Linked DNA regions of Homo sapiens: all the other regions are linked to region 4. The links are contacts of gene promoters, found by promoter capture Hi-C in blood cells and fetal thymus (Javierre and others, 2016). All regions are on one chromosome and are shown on one strand. Each heading gives the region's core, a stretch centred on a gene start or on the middle of the fragment in contact. The rest is flanking DNA. Distances are from core to core; before and after follow the strand shown. Region 1 overlaps LOC124905132 (a long non-coding RNA gene). Region 2 overlaps LINC00229 (long intergenic non-protein coding RNA 229). Region 3 has its middle 5.1 kb from the start of PRR5. Region 4 holds the start of PNPLA3 (patatin like domain 3, 1-acylglycerol-3-phosphate O-acyltransferase).

The links. Contacts are between HindIII fragments. The CHiCAGO score rates a contact against its expected background, and 5 or more counts as called.
Region 1: a contact is called between a fragment that was not itself captured here and the fragment with the promoter of PNPLA3 in region 4, in 3 of 17 cell types (M1 macrophages, M0 macrophages and erythroblasts). The highest score is 8.0, in M1 macrophages.
Region 2: a fragment that was not itself captured here is called in contact with the fragment with the promoter of PNPLA3 in region 4 in 1 of 17 cell types (fetal thymus); the score reaches 5.5 in fetal thymus.
Region 3: a fragment that was not itself captured here is called in contact with the fragment with the promoter of PNPLA3 in region 4 in 1 of 17 cell types (monocytes); the score reaches 5.2 in monocytes.

What each region holds. Positions count from the first base shown.
Region 1 is chr22:44,665,728-44,668,427 of GRCh38, forward strand. LOC124905132 (a long non-coding RNA gene) reads right to left here. Exons shown (of 3, transcript XR_007068127.1): 1 at 2,604-2,700; 2 at 1,857-1,942. Among named protein-coding and RNA genes, the nearest start is that of PRR5, 35 kb to the right of the region's middle. The HindIII fragment of the contact is 1,445 bases long and covers 554-1,998 here.
Region 2 is chr22:44,604,195-44,606,894 of GRCh38, forward strand. It overlaps LINC00229 (long intergenic non-protein coding RNA 229), which reads right to left. Exons shown (of 5, transcript NR_044991.1): 5 at 2,134-2,451. Among named protein-coding and RNA genes, the nearest start is that of LINC00229, 20 kb to the right of the region's middle. The HindIII fragment of the contact is 4,678 bases long and covers 1-2,700 here.
Region 3 is chr22:44,695,757-44,698,456 of GRCh38, forward strand. It overlaps a transcript of PRR5 not described here. Among named protein-coding and RNA genes, the nearest start is that of PRR5, 5.1 kb to the right of the region's middle. The HindIII fragment of the contact is 4,492 bases long and covers 1-2,700 here.
Region 4 is chr22:43,922,447-43,925,146 of GRCh38, forward strand. PNPLA3 (patatin like domain 3, 1-acylglycerol-3-phosphate O-acyltransferase) reads left to right here and starts at 1,359. Exons shown (of 9, transcript NM_025225.3): 1 at 1,359-1,652. The coding sequence starts at 1,466. RefSeq lists enhancers at 1,174-1,918, 1,919-2,661. The HindIII fragment of the contact is 6,907 bases long and covers 1-2,700 here.

The DNA of each region.
Region 1 (2,700 bases), core at 26-2,525, 740 kb after region 4:
AGGTGGGAGGATCACCTGAGGTCAGGAGTTCAAGACCAGCCTAGCTAACATAGTGAAACCCTGTCTCCACTAAAAATACAAAAAATTAGCCAGATGTGGTGGCGCGCGCCTGTAATCCCAGCTGCTCGGGAGGCTGAGGCAGGAGAATCGCTTGAACCCAGGAGGCAGAGGTTGCAGTGAGCCAAGATTGTGCCACTGCACTCCAGGTTGGGCAACAAGAGTGAAACTCCATCAAAAAAAAAAAAAAAAAGAGAGAGAGGGAGAGAGAGAGAGAGAGAGAGAGAGAGAGAGAGAGAAAGAAATTTAATGAACATTTTTTAAAAAAAAAATCCAATTAGAAAATAGGCAAAAGACATGAACACACCTACCACTCATAGGATTTACAGATGGTAAATAAGCTCTCAAGATCGTTTTGAATCTTTAACATCAATAGTCGTTAGAGGAAGGCAAATTAAAACCATGAGATCTCACTACACACCTATCAGCATGGCAAAAATAAAACACAGGGACAAGACGAAATGCTGGTAGGGATGCAGAGAAACTGGATCACTCAAGCTTTGCTGCTGGGAAGGCAAAGTGGTACACTCTGGAAAACATTTTGGCAGTTTCTTAAAAATCTAAACATGCAACTCCCATACGACCCAGCAATTACACTCCTGGGCACTCTTCCCAGACAAATGAAAACTTATGTTCACACAAAAACCTGTACACAAATGTTTATAGCAGCTTTATTGGTAATAGCCCCAAACTGGCAATCAACCCAGATAGTCTTCGACAAGTGAATGGCTAAACAAATTATGATGCACCCATTCCATGGAATGCTGACCACTCCACAATAGCAAGGAACAAACTACTGAAACACAAAGCAACCTGGAAGAATCTTCAGGGATTTATGCTGAGTGAAAAAAGCAATCTCAAAAGGTAACATACTGTATGACTGCATTTATATAACATGCTTGAAATGATAAAATTACAGAAATGGAGAACAGATAAGTGCTTGCCAGGAGGGAGGAGGGAGGGAGATAAGCACATAAAAAGTCCACGGGGGGGTCCTTTGCTGATGGAATGTTCTGTACCTTGATGGCATCTATGTCAATATCCTGGTTGTGATATTGTAGTATAATTTTGCAAGATTTTACCAGTGGAGAAAACTGGGTCCAAGACATCTCTACTGTTTCTTATAGCTGCATGTGAATCTACAATTATCTCAAAATAAGAAAGTTTAGGCTGGGCGTGCTGCCTCACACCTGTAATCCCAGGATTTTGGGAGGCCCAGGCGGGTGGATCACCTGAGGTCAGGAGTTTGAGACCAGCCTGGCCAACATAGTGAAACCCTGTCTCTACTAAAAATACAAAAATTAGTCGGGCATGGTGGCAGGCACCTGTAGCCCCAGCTACTCAGGAGGCTGAAGCAGGAGAACCACTCGAAATCAGGAGGCAGAGGTTGCAATGAGCCAAGATGGCACCACTGCACTCCAGCCTGGGTAACAGAGCGAGACTCGGTCTCAAGAAAAAAAAAAAAGAAAGAAAGAAGGAAAGTTTAATTAGAAGTGGGGGAGGTCCTAGTGGTCACACACCAAGAGGCTGGATTAGATGACCTCAAAGGTCCCTCCAAGGCCAGGACATCCCTCTTGGCAGCACGGGGCTCAGAACAGCTCCACCTCCTTCTGGCACCTCTTGGGCCGTTTCCAGCCCCACCCCAGTACTCGATCCAGGCACTGTCTGCCCAGTCTAGATGCCACCCAGACACTTTAGGCCCCTCTGTCCAGATGCCCTCTCCTCCCTCTAGGATGCCCCATCCTGCAGTTCAGGCAGAGCTGCTCACTCCCAGGGCCCTATGGACCCCATTAGAGTACCTGGGGTCTGGCCGGGATGCTTGCTGTCCTGAAATCTGGTCACCAGGAAGGCCGGCCATCTGATCTGCCTCATGTCAACACTGTTTCTGGGGGATGAGTGGCTTAGCGTCAAACAAGCACAATGATGGAAGGGGAAAAAAAAAGCTTTACAACTGAATATGGACACAAATATTTGCACAATTGCATTCTAAAACATTAAAACAATCACTACACCAAAACACAATAACCATAACCATCACCGCCCGAATGCCCACAGCCTGGCCTCTGGTACAGGACTTGCGGCTTCTACCAGGCACTGACTGTCAATCCTTTCGGGGATTCCTGGGACAGACACCACTGCTCCCCGCCCACTGCCCCCACCACAGCCACGTACCAACGGAGAGGTACTTAAACAGGGTGAGGCTGTTTAAGTGAAGAGTGAAAAGAAGCCCTTTTCGAGACACTGGGGTGTGGGATGTGGGTTGTGGGGTGCAGGATGTGGGGTGCTGGATGTTTCCACCAGGGCAGTTCTTCTCAAACTTTACTGAACTCTGGAACCACCCAGAAGGCTTGTTAAAATAGGGGGCCCAACCCCGAGTTTTGCTTCTGTAGGTCCGGGGTGGGGCCAGGGACTCTGCACTAACGGAGGCCACACTTTGAGAACCACAGCCCTGGGCTGTTTTTGGTGCCAGGCCCATTCGTCTTCCCCTCCCTCCCCGCTCCGCCCGCGGCTGGACCCCGATCCCCGGGACAGGGACTGAGTCTGACCGTCTGATTTGTCCTCCCGGCTTCTAGCGCCCCGCTCAGGTCGGGGCTTGGGGAGGGGGCGCTCTCTGGACGTTTGCGGCCCGCCGAGGGGTGGGGT
Region 2 (2,700 bases), core at 39-2,538, 680 kb after region 4:
AAAGACACACAATATACACAGGTGGTGAGGATGAGACCGGGGCGCCCTCCCAAGCCCACGGTCAGGACGGGCGGCCCTCGAGCCGACCAAACCAGAATCTTGGGACCCATGATCAAGCGGTGGGTGTTGCTAATGCTGAAGATAGCAGGATCCTCAAGGCAAACAGACCCACACAGGCAAAAAACAAAAAGGCCCAGATTCCCCGTGTCTGCCACCCAGCAGGGAGCCCGGGGGGTGCACTGAAGCCGCTTCCCCCAGAAATGCAGCAGCCGGGCTCCAGAGGCACGTGTCAGAAACCACACACATACACACACACACGTGGTACATGCCACATATCACACACATACACCACATACATCATACACACACCACACACATCACATACCACACATGTCACACACATACACCACATACACCATACACACACCACACACATCACATGGCACACACCACATATCACATGCACACACCACATACACCATACACACATACACCACGCACACACCACAGGCCACACACCACATATCACACACATACACCACACACACCATACACCACACATTACACACACATGCACCACACACATATACCACACACATACCATATAGCACACATATACCATACACACATCCCATGCCACACACCACAAACCATGTGCCACATATCACATGTCACACACACACACCATGTACCACATACATCGTACACCACACACACCCTGCACACACACACCACATATCACATACACACCACACACACATCACACATCACACACACATCAAACACACACACACCACACACACACACACCATATACCACACAGATACCACACACACACACACATACACACATACACAGCCCTTCTCTTGCTGCATGAGTCCACCCTGGGGAGGAGGGGCATGAGGGCACAGAGAGCCCACAAGATGCACTTCTGAGGCCACACACACAGCCCCATGGTCTGGAGCCTCAGCCTCATGGGCATGTAGCGTGTGTGCGTGTGTGTGTGTGTGGTTTCTGACATGTTTGCCCCTGACTGGAGCCTGGCTGCTGTATTTCTGGGGGAAGTGCCTTCGGTGGCCCCGCATGCTCCCTGCTGGGTGGCAGACAGGGGGAATCTGATCCTTGCCAGAGGATCAGATCCAGCAGTGGACGATACTCAGAGAAGAAGGTTTGCAGACTCAAGGGAGCCCAGACGCAGAAAGGACGGCTTGCCCAATAAAACACACAGCAGGTGTTTAGAGGAAAAAACAAGCCCCAAGATCGCCAAGCATCCTGGGTTCACTGCTTAAGATGGAAGAGGTGCAGCTCTCCTCTGTGAGGATGATATTTGCAAAGGTTGCCAAAGGTCTGCAGACACTCAGCGCCAAAAGGCAGGGCCGTTAGGGGAAGCAGCGGCCTCTGCGAAGACTCCAGGTGTCCTTTACTTGGGGGACTGGAACCAGACAGGCAGCCCTTTGTGCTGTCACTGTGGTTTGGGGATGTTCCATCTCTGCTGCAAGCTGCCACTTTTTCCTCCTTCCTGAGGGTGGGGTGTGATGGCCACACTTACTCAGCTGGAAGGAGGGCAACTTGTCAGTTTTGATTTCGTGAAGACCAAGGAAGAAAAGCTGTGAGATGCTGTTTCTGGGCAAAGGGATATCGCTTTTCATTCAGCAAATACCCGCTCGTCTCCCAGATGCCAGGCAGAGCGGGAGCACCCAGAGAGAGGGCGCCTGGAGGGGAGGCTCTGGACGGGGTGGATTTCCCACCAGTAGACCACAGGCAGTCTGGAATTCTAGATGTCACCTCCTGGACTGCCTGAGTTGGCAGAGCCCTTAGAGGTCATCTCACCCAATTTCGCCATTGTCTATTTGGAAAACTCAAATAGACAATGCCCAGAGGAAGGAAGCAATGTGCCCTTTGTCATCAAGCGAGGTAGTGGCAGGAGCAGGGTGGTGCTCGGGCTTGCCGTTGTCCCGCCCAGCGAGCTGGCCACGGTGGTACTGGGCCTCTCAGAGCAGGGCAGCATCCCCCAGGGGCTGTGAGCAGCACCTCCCCTGCCCGGGAGGGGAAAGAGCTAAATTCTCACTTAGCAGCAGGATGCTTCTGGGCCTCATTACGATGGTGCAAATTAATATTTATCATGCAATTATTCATCTTTGTAATTGCTAGTATTTCAAAGGGAGCGCAGAGGCTTTCATTAGAACACTTGGAACGTTATTCAGATGAAATGTCAAAATGAGCAGCGTCCCTCTCCACACTGGCAGCCCCTGTGTCCAGCTGCCTCCAGAAGGTTCCCAGCACCGGGGTCCACACAGCCGTGTTGCTGCCACTTCCAGGTGCTGGCTTGGGGTTTGGGTCCATTTGTTAGAAATCTTGACTTCTGGAAACCTGGGGGCATCTGAAGCCAGAAACTCGAGATTCAAAGGGCCTGGTGGACGTGGGACTCCATGAACATGAGCAGCAGAGCCTCTGAGGGCAGAGACAGGACAGTGTCATCAGGAGCCCCCACATCCTGCTGCCCCTCTGCACCCACCTGGCCGGCCTCCCTGCCTCGCACCCTCACCCCCTCCGGCCACATGCAGCTTGTGGCTTCCCTCCCTTCCCCTCCCTCCTACCTGGAGGCAGGTCTCCTTACACCCTGCCTCCAAGCCCACCACCAGGTGTGCCCGCCAGGGCTCTACCCTCCTACCACCTCCAAGCCCACCACCAGGTGTGCCC
Region 3 (2,700 bases), core at 81-2,580, 770 kb after region 4:
CCCAGCTAATTTTTTTGTATTTTTAGTAGAGACAGGGTTTCACCATGTTGACTAGGCTGGTCTCGAACCCCTGACCTCAAGTGATCCACCCATCTCGGTCTCCCAAAGTGCGCCCAGCCTGTCAGGGTTTTTTTAAACACAAGTGATTCCATTTTGATTCTGACAACTTTTTTTTTTTTTTTTTTTTTTTTTGATACAGAGTCCCTCTCTGTCACCCAGGCTGGAGTGCAATGGCACAGTCACTGAAACCTCCACCTCCCAGGTTTAAGTGATTTTCCTGCCTCAGCCTCCTGAGTAGCTGGGATTACAGGCACACACCACCACACTTGGCTAATTTTTGTATTTTTAGTAGAGATGGGGTTTCACCATGTTGGCCAGGCTGGTCTGGAATTCCTGACCTCAGGTGATCCACCCGCCTCAGCCTCCCAAAGTGCTGGCATAACAGGCATGAGCCACCGCGTCCAGCCAATTCTGACAACTTTGACACAAAGGAGGTGGCAGAGCTGAGGGCAGACCCAGTTTGGGAGATTCCAAAACCTGTCTCTGCAATGCCATCCTCGAGCTTGGACAGTCACCTCCTTATACCACAGAGGCACCTATTGAGAGACTAGAATCAGGTTATAAAACACCTGCCCCAGAAGAGACTTTGGAAACCGATTGGTGTTCAAGACCTGGCTGACAGGTGGGAAGGTGGCTTGGAGAGAGAATCTTATGCAGGTGCATGTGTGACGTCTGGTGTATTAAGACCAGGGACCTGCTGGCCAGAGCCCCCTCCCCGGCCCCTAGAACTGAAATCCAGAACAAAAGGAGGGCACGTGTCTTGGGTGCACAGAACCAGACCACCAGGGTGGAGAAGGGCTCAGATGGAGTCCTGGTAGCTCAGCTGGTCAAGAGAAGACTTAAAGGAAGCGGTCCACCTTCAAACCTCAAGGCTGCTGTGGGACCAAGGAAGACATGAACTTACGTATTTATTTATTTATTTATTTATTTATTTATTTGAGATGCAGTCCTGCTCTGTCGCCCAGGCTAGAGTGCAGTGGCACGATCTTGGCTCACTGTAAACTCCGCTTCCAGGGTTCGAGCGATTCTCCTGCCTCAGCCTCCCTAGTAGCTGGGACTACAGGTGTGCACCACCATATCCGGCTAATTTTTGTATTTTTAGTAGAGACAGGGTTTCACCATGTTAGCCAGGGTAGTCTCCAACTCCTGACCTCAGGTGATCCACTGGCCTCAGCCTCCTAAAGTACTGGGATCACAGGCGTGAGCCACCACACCCGGCCAGGACATGAACATATCAGATGGCAGAGCTAGGAAGGGACGATGGGCTCACCTTCTGGTAGCAGGGACCATGTCTTTCTTGTTCCTTGCTGTGTTCCCCACACAGCCTCAGTTTCCCCAGTCGTGAAATGGGAATAATAACAGTTGATCCTGGCTCCAAGGCCACCAGGTCCGGTGGCCTGGTGCTTGGTGCCGGAGTCACCGCGAGTACCCTGGGCTCCCCCAGCGTGGTGGCCCTGACTCAGGAACCTCCTTCTGCCGTGCGACCACCCTGGCGGCGGTCACCAAGCCCTTGGCGTGCCCCTGTGACTGTGTGTGGATTTTTTCTGTGCCCTCACAGGGCAGTGGTGTCACCCTTCTCGCCCATCTCAGGGAAGGGATGGGACGGCCCGGATGGCAGAGACTGTGGGGACAGAGCCAGGCACTCCCCATGGCTTTCCGTGCCCAGCACGTTGCCAGGCCTCTTCCAGGGTGTCCGGGACTGACCAGGCTGCTCCTCAGGGGGCAGAAGGCACTTTTGGGTCGGCTTTGAGGGAACACCAGGCTTCGCCACCAGGGGGCGGACGTGCCCCTCCAGAGCAGGCAGTGCCTAGGAAAGCAGGCAGGGCGTGGGCAACTGAGGTCACCACCTGAGGGCCGTGCCCCGGGGAGAGTGGGCGAGATGGAGGCTGTCTCTCTCTCCCGCCCAGCCCGCAGGGCTCCAGCCTCAGCTCCCCCACTTGCTGACTCTGACCTCGGACATACGCCTCGGCCTCCCTGGGCCTCTGTTTGTCTGTCTGTAAAATGGGACTGGTCTCCCACTTGGCAGCCTTGTGGGGACGAGTCGGGGCAGTGTGTTTAGTGGCCGCCCCTGTATCATGCCTATAGTACCCCTCCCTGGGCCCCAAACTGGCCCCTTCAGGGGTATGCTGTCTCCTCCCTTTGGCTGGCCTGTGTCCCAGAGATCATGATGTCACTTGCAGTGCTGATGGACTAGAACTCAGAGTCCCGGGTTCATGAGCTGCCCTGACTTACTGGTCTGTTCCTGTCCCCTGGGTGTCCAGCCGGGGCTGAGCCAGGCTTAGGGATTGCAGGCCCTTCAGAAGGGTAGTTCTGAGGATATCAGGGTCCCCCTTGGTGACCAAGGGGATCCTCTACCAGCTGCCGACACCCCACTGGCCAGGGGGAGTTTGGAATGAGTTTGGGTCCTGGGGAGGAGAGGACGTGGTTGATGCCATCGGGCCTGGCACCTTCCTGGAGCAGGGGCCACTCTGGTGGCTTTGGGGATGTGTGAATGAGTCTGGAGCAGGGGTGGCTCTGGTGGCTTTGGGGTTGTGTGAATGAGTCTGGAGCAGAGGTGGCTCTGGTGGCTTTGGGGATGTGTGAATGAGTCTGGAGTGGGGGCCACTCTGGTGGCTTTGGGGATGTGTGACTGAGTCCCTT
Region 4 (2,700 bases), core at 109-2,608:
TCAAGGTCAAGGGGCCTCTTAGGCATCTCCTAAGGGCATGCTACTATCCAAATGTTTGTGTCCCCACTAAAGGTCATCTGTTGAAATCCTACACCTTAAGGTGATGATCTTTGGAGGCGGGGGCCTTTGGAAGGTGATTTGATGAGAGGGTGGCACCCTTATGAATGGGATTGGTGCCCTTATCAAAGAGGCCCAGAGGTGAGGATGTGGCAAGATGGCACCTTCTACGAGCCATACCTCTCACCAGGGACCAAATCTGCTGGTATCTTGAACTTGGGCTTTCCAGCCTCCAGAACTGTGAGACAGAGAAATAAGCCAGGCGAAGTGGCTCACCCCTGTAATCCCAGCATTTTGGGAGGCTGAGGTGGGTGATGACTTGAGGTCAGGAGTTCTAGACTAGCCTGGCCAACATGGTGAAACCCCATCTCTACTAAAAATACAAAAAATTAGTCAGGCATGGTGGCGCATGCTTGTAATCCCAGCTACTCGTGAGGCTGAGGCAGGAGAATCCCTTGAACCCGGGAGGAAGAGGCTGCAGTGGGCCAAGATCGTGCCATTGCACTCCAGCCTGGGGGGAAAAAGATAGAAATAAATCTCTTGTTTGTAAGCCCCTCCGCTTTAAGGTGTTTTGTTTTCGCACCTGAACGGACTAAGGGACTAAGGGACCAGGAATCATCCAGGCCTCAGCTTCCCAAAGCACTCCCCACTCCCCAGTTCCTACAGGGCCCCGACCCCAGCCCCAGCACCCGTCATTCACATTTTTTACTTACAAAGGAAACTTTGAAATGGACACTTCCTGTTACTTTCATTCAATGAAAAAAATCCCCAGCACTTGAAGGCAATCATACAGAAAGCCTGCAACAACGCAGAGAGTAGACTCTTCAGGTGGTGGTGCCTGCTTTAGGCTGGCTCTCCCCGGGTCAAAAGGGACGTGATAAAGTGTTAAAGTGATGTTAAGGATCAAGTGGGCACCAACTGCGACTCCCCTCCCACCCCCCGACTTAACAGATGTCAAGGAAAACAGAAGGAAGCCGTTTCTCTCCAGGACATGCAGTGTCTGCTGGAGTTTTGGAAAAATGCTTTCTCTCGAGTCGCTGCGGGGAGCTCCCAGGCTGGACCCCCCCGCACAGGTCCTCCGCCATCGCCCTCCCAGCCCCCGCCCCCAATCCCCCTCCCAGACCCGGTCCCCGCCCCCATCCCCCGCCAGACGTCGTCCCCACCCCCATCCCCCTCCAAGCCCCGCCCGGGAGGGCGTCCTGCCCGCTCATTGGGCCTCCCGCCGGCTCATTTGCATGGTCCGAGGGGGGCGGGGCTGACGTCGCGCTGGGAATGCCCTGGCCGAGACACTGAGGCAGGGTAGAGAGCGCTTGCGGGCGCCGGGCGGAGCTGCTGCGGATCAGGACCCGAGCCGATTCCCGATCCCGACCCAGATCCTAACCCGCGCCCCCGCCCCGCCGCCGCCGCCATGTACGACGCAGAGCGCGGCTGGAGCTTGTCCTTCGCGGGCTGCGGCTTCCTGGGCTTCTACCACGTCGGGGCGACCCGCTGCCTGAGCGAGCACGCCCCGCACCTCCTCCGCGACGCGCGCATGTTGTTCGGCGCTTCGGCCGGGGCGTTGCACTGCGTCGGCGTCCTCTCCGGTATCCCGCTGGGTGCGTCTGGGGACGCTGCCCGGGCTCCACGTGCGGAGTGGGTGCCCCCTAGGCCGGGGAGCGGGGGATCCCCAGGGGTCGCGGGGCCCTGGAGGAGCGGGCATCGGACGCGGACACGGCGGGGTGCATCCCGAGGGCCCCCTCCGAGGCAGATGCTTCCTGCGGGGGCGCTGTTCCTGGGCCCGGGAAGGGGGCGTTGGAACCCCGAGCGGTCCGGGCCGAAGCCTGGGACTCTCGTGCGTCCCCACCCCTACCCCCATCAGGCGCCCGTGCATGAAGGGAGACCCTCACCTCCGGACTGAGAGTCGGAGCGTCTCGGAGCGACGGGGAGTAGGGAGCGGGACCCGGGGCGGAGGGTAGTGCTGGCCCCTGCGGACTCCGGGTCCCCTGTGTCCTCTCGGGAGGGGCTGGACGGGCTGAGCTGCCGAGGGGCCGATTTGCCCTGGGCCGGACAAAGAGTGGGGCTTTGGCCGGTCCCCCACGGTGGGCTCCTTCCCTCTGGGGATTGAGGGACTCAAGACACCCCGCGCCTGCGCTTTTCTTTTCTTTTTTTCTTTTTTTTTTTTTGAGACGGAGTTTCGCTCAGTCGCCCAGGCTGGAGTGCAGTGGCGTGATCTCAACTCACTGCAAGCTCCACCTCCCAGGTTCACGCCATTCTCCTGCCTCAGCCTCCCGAGTAGCTGGGACTACAGGCGCCAGCCACCAAGCCCGGCTAATTTTTTGTATTTTTTAGTAGAGACGGGGTTTCACCGTGTTAGCCAGGATGGTCTCGATCTCCTGACCTCGTGATCTGCCCACCTCGGCCTCCCAGAATGCTGGGGTTACAGGCGTGAGCCACTGCTCCCTGCTGCCTACGCTCTCTGGGTCGCAGCCCAGCCTTCTGGGGGCTGGGTAGCCTCCCAGAAGGGCAACCCTGGGCATCCTCCAGGGCAGGCTAACTGGAGTCTAGTGGGGAGGGGTACCTTGAAAGAGGAAAGTTGTTTCCTCCTCCTCCTCCTCCTCCAGTGTTTGGGACCCTTCCTGGGGGCTGGAGTGCATCCCTGGACAC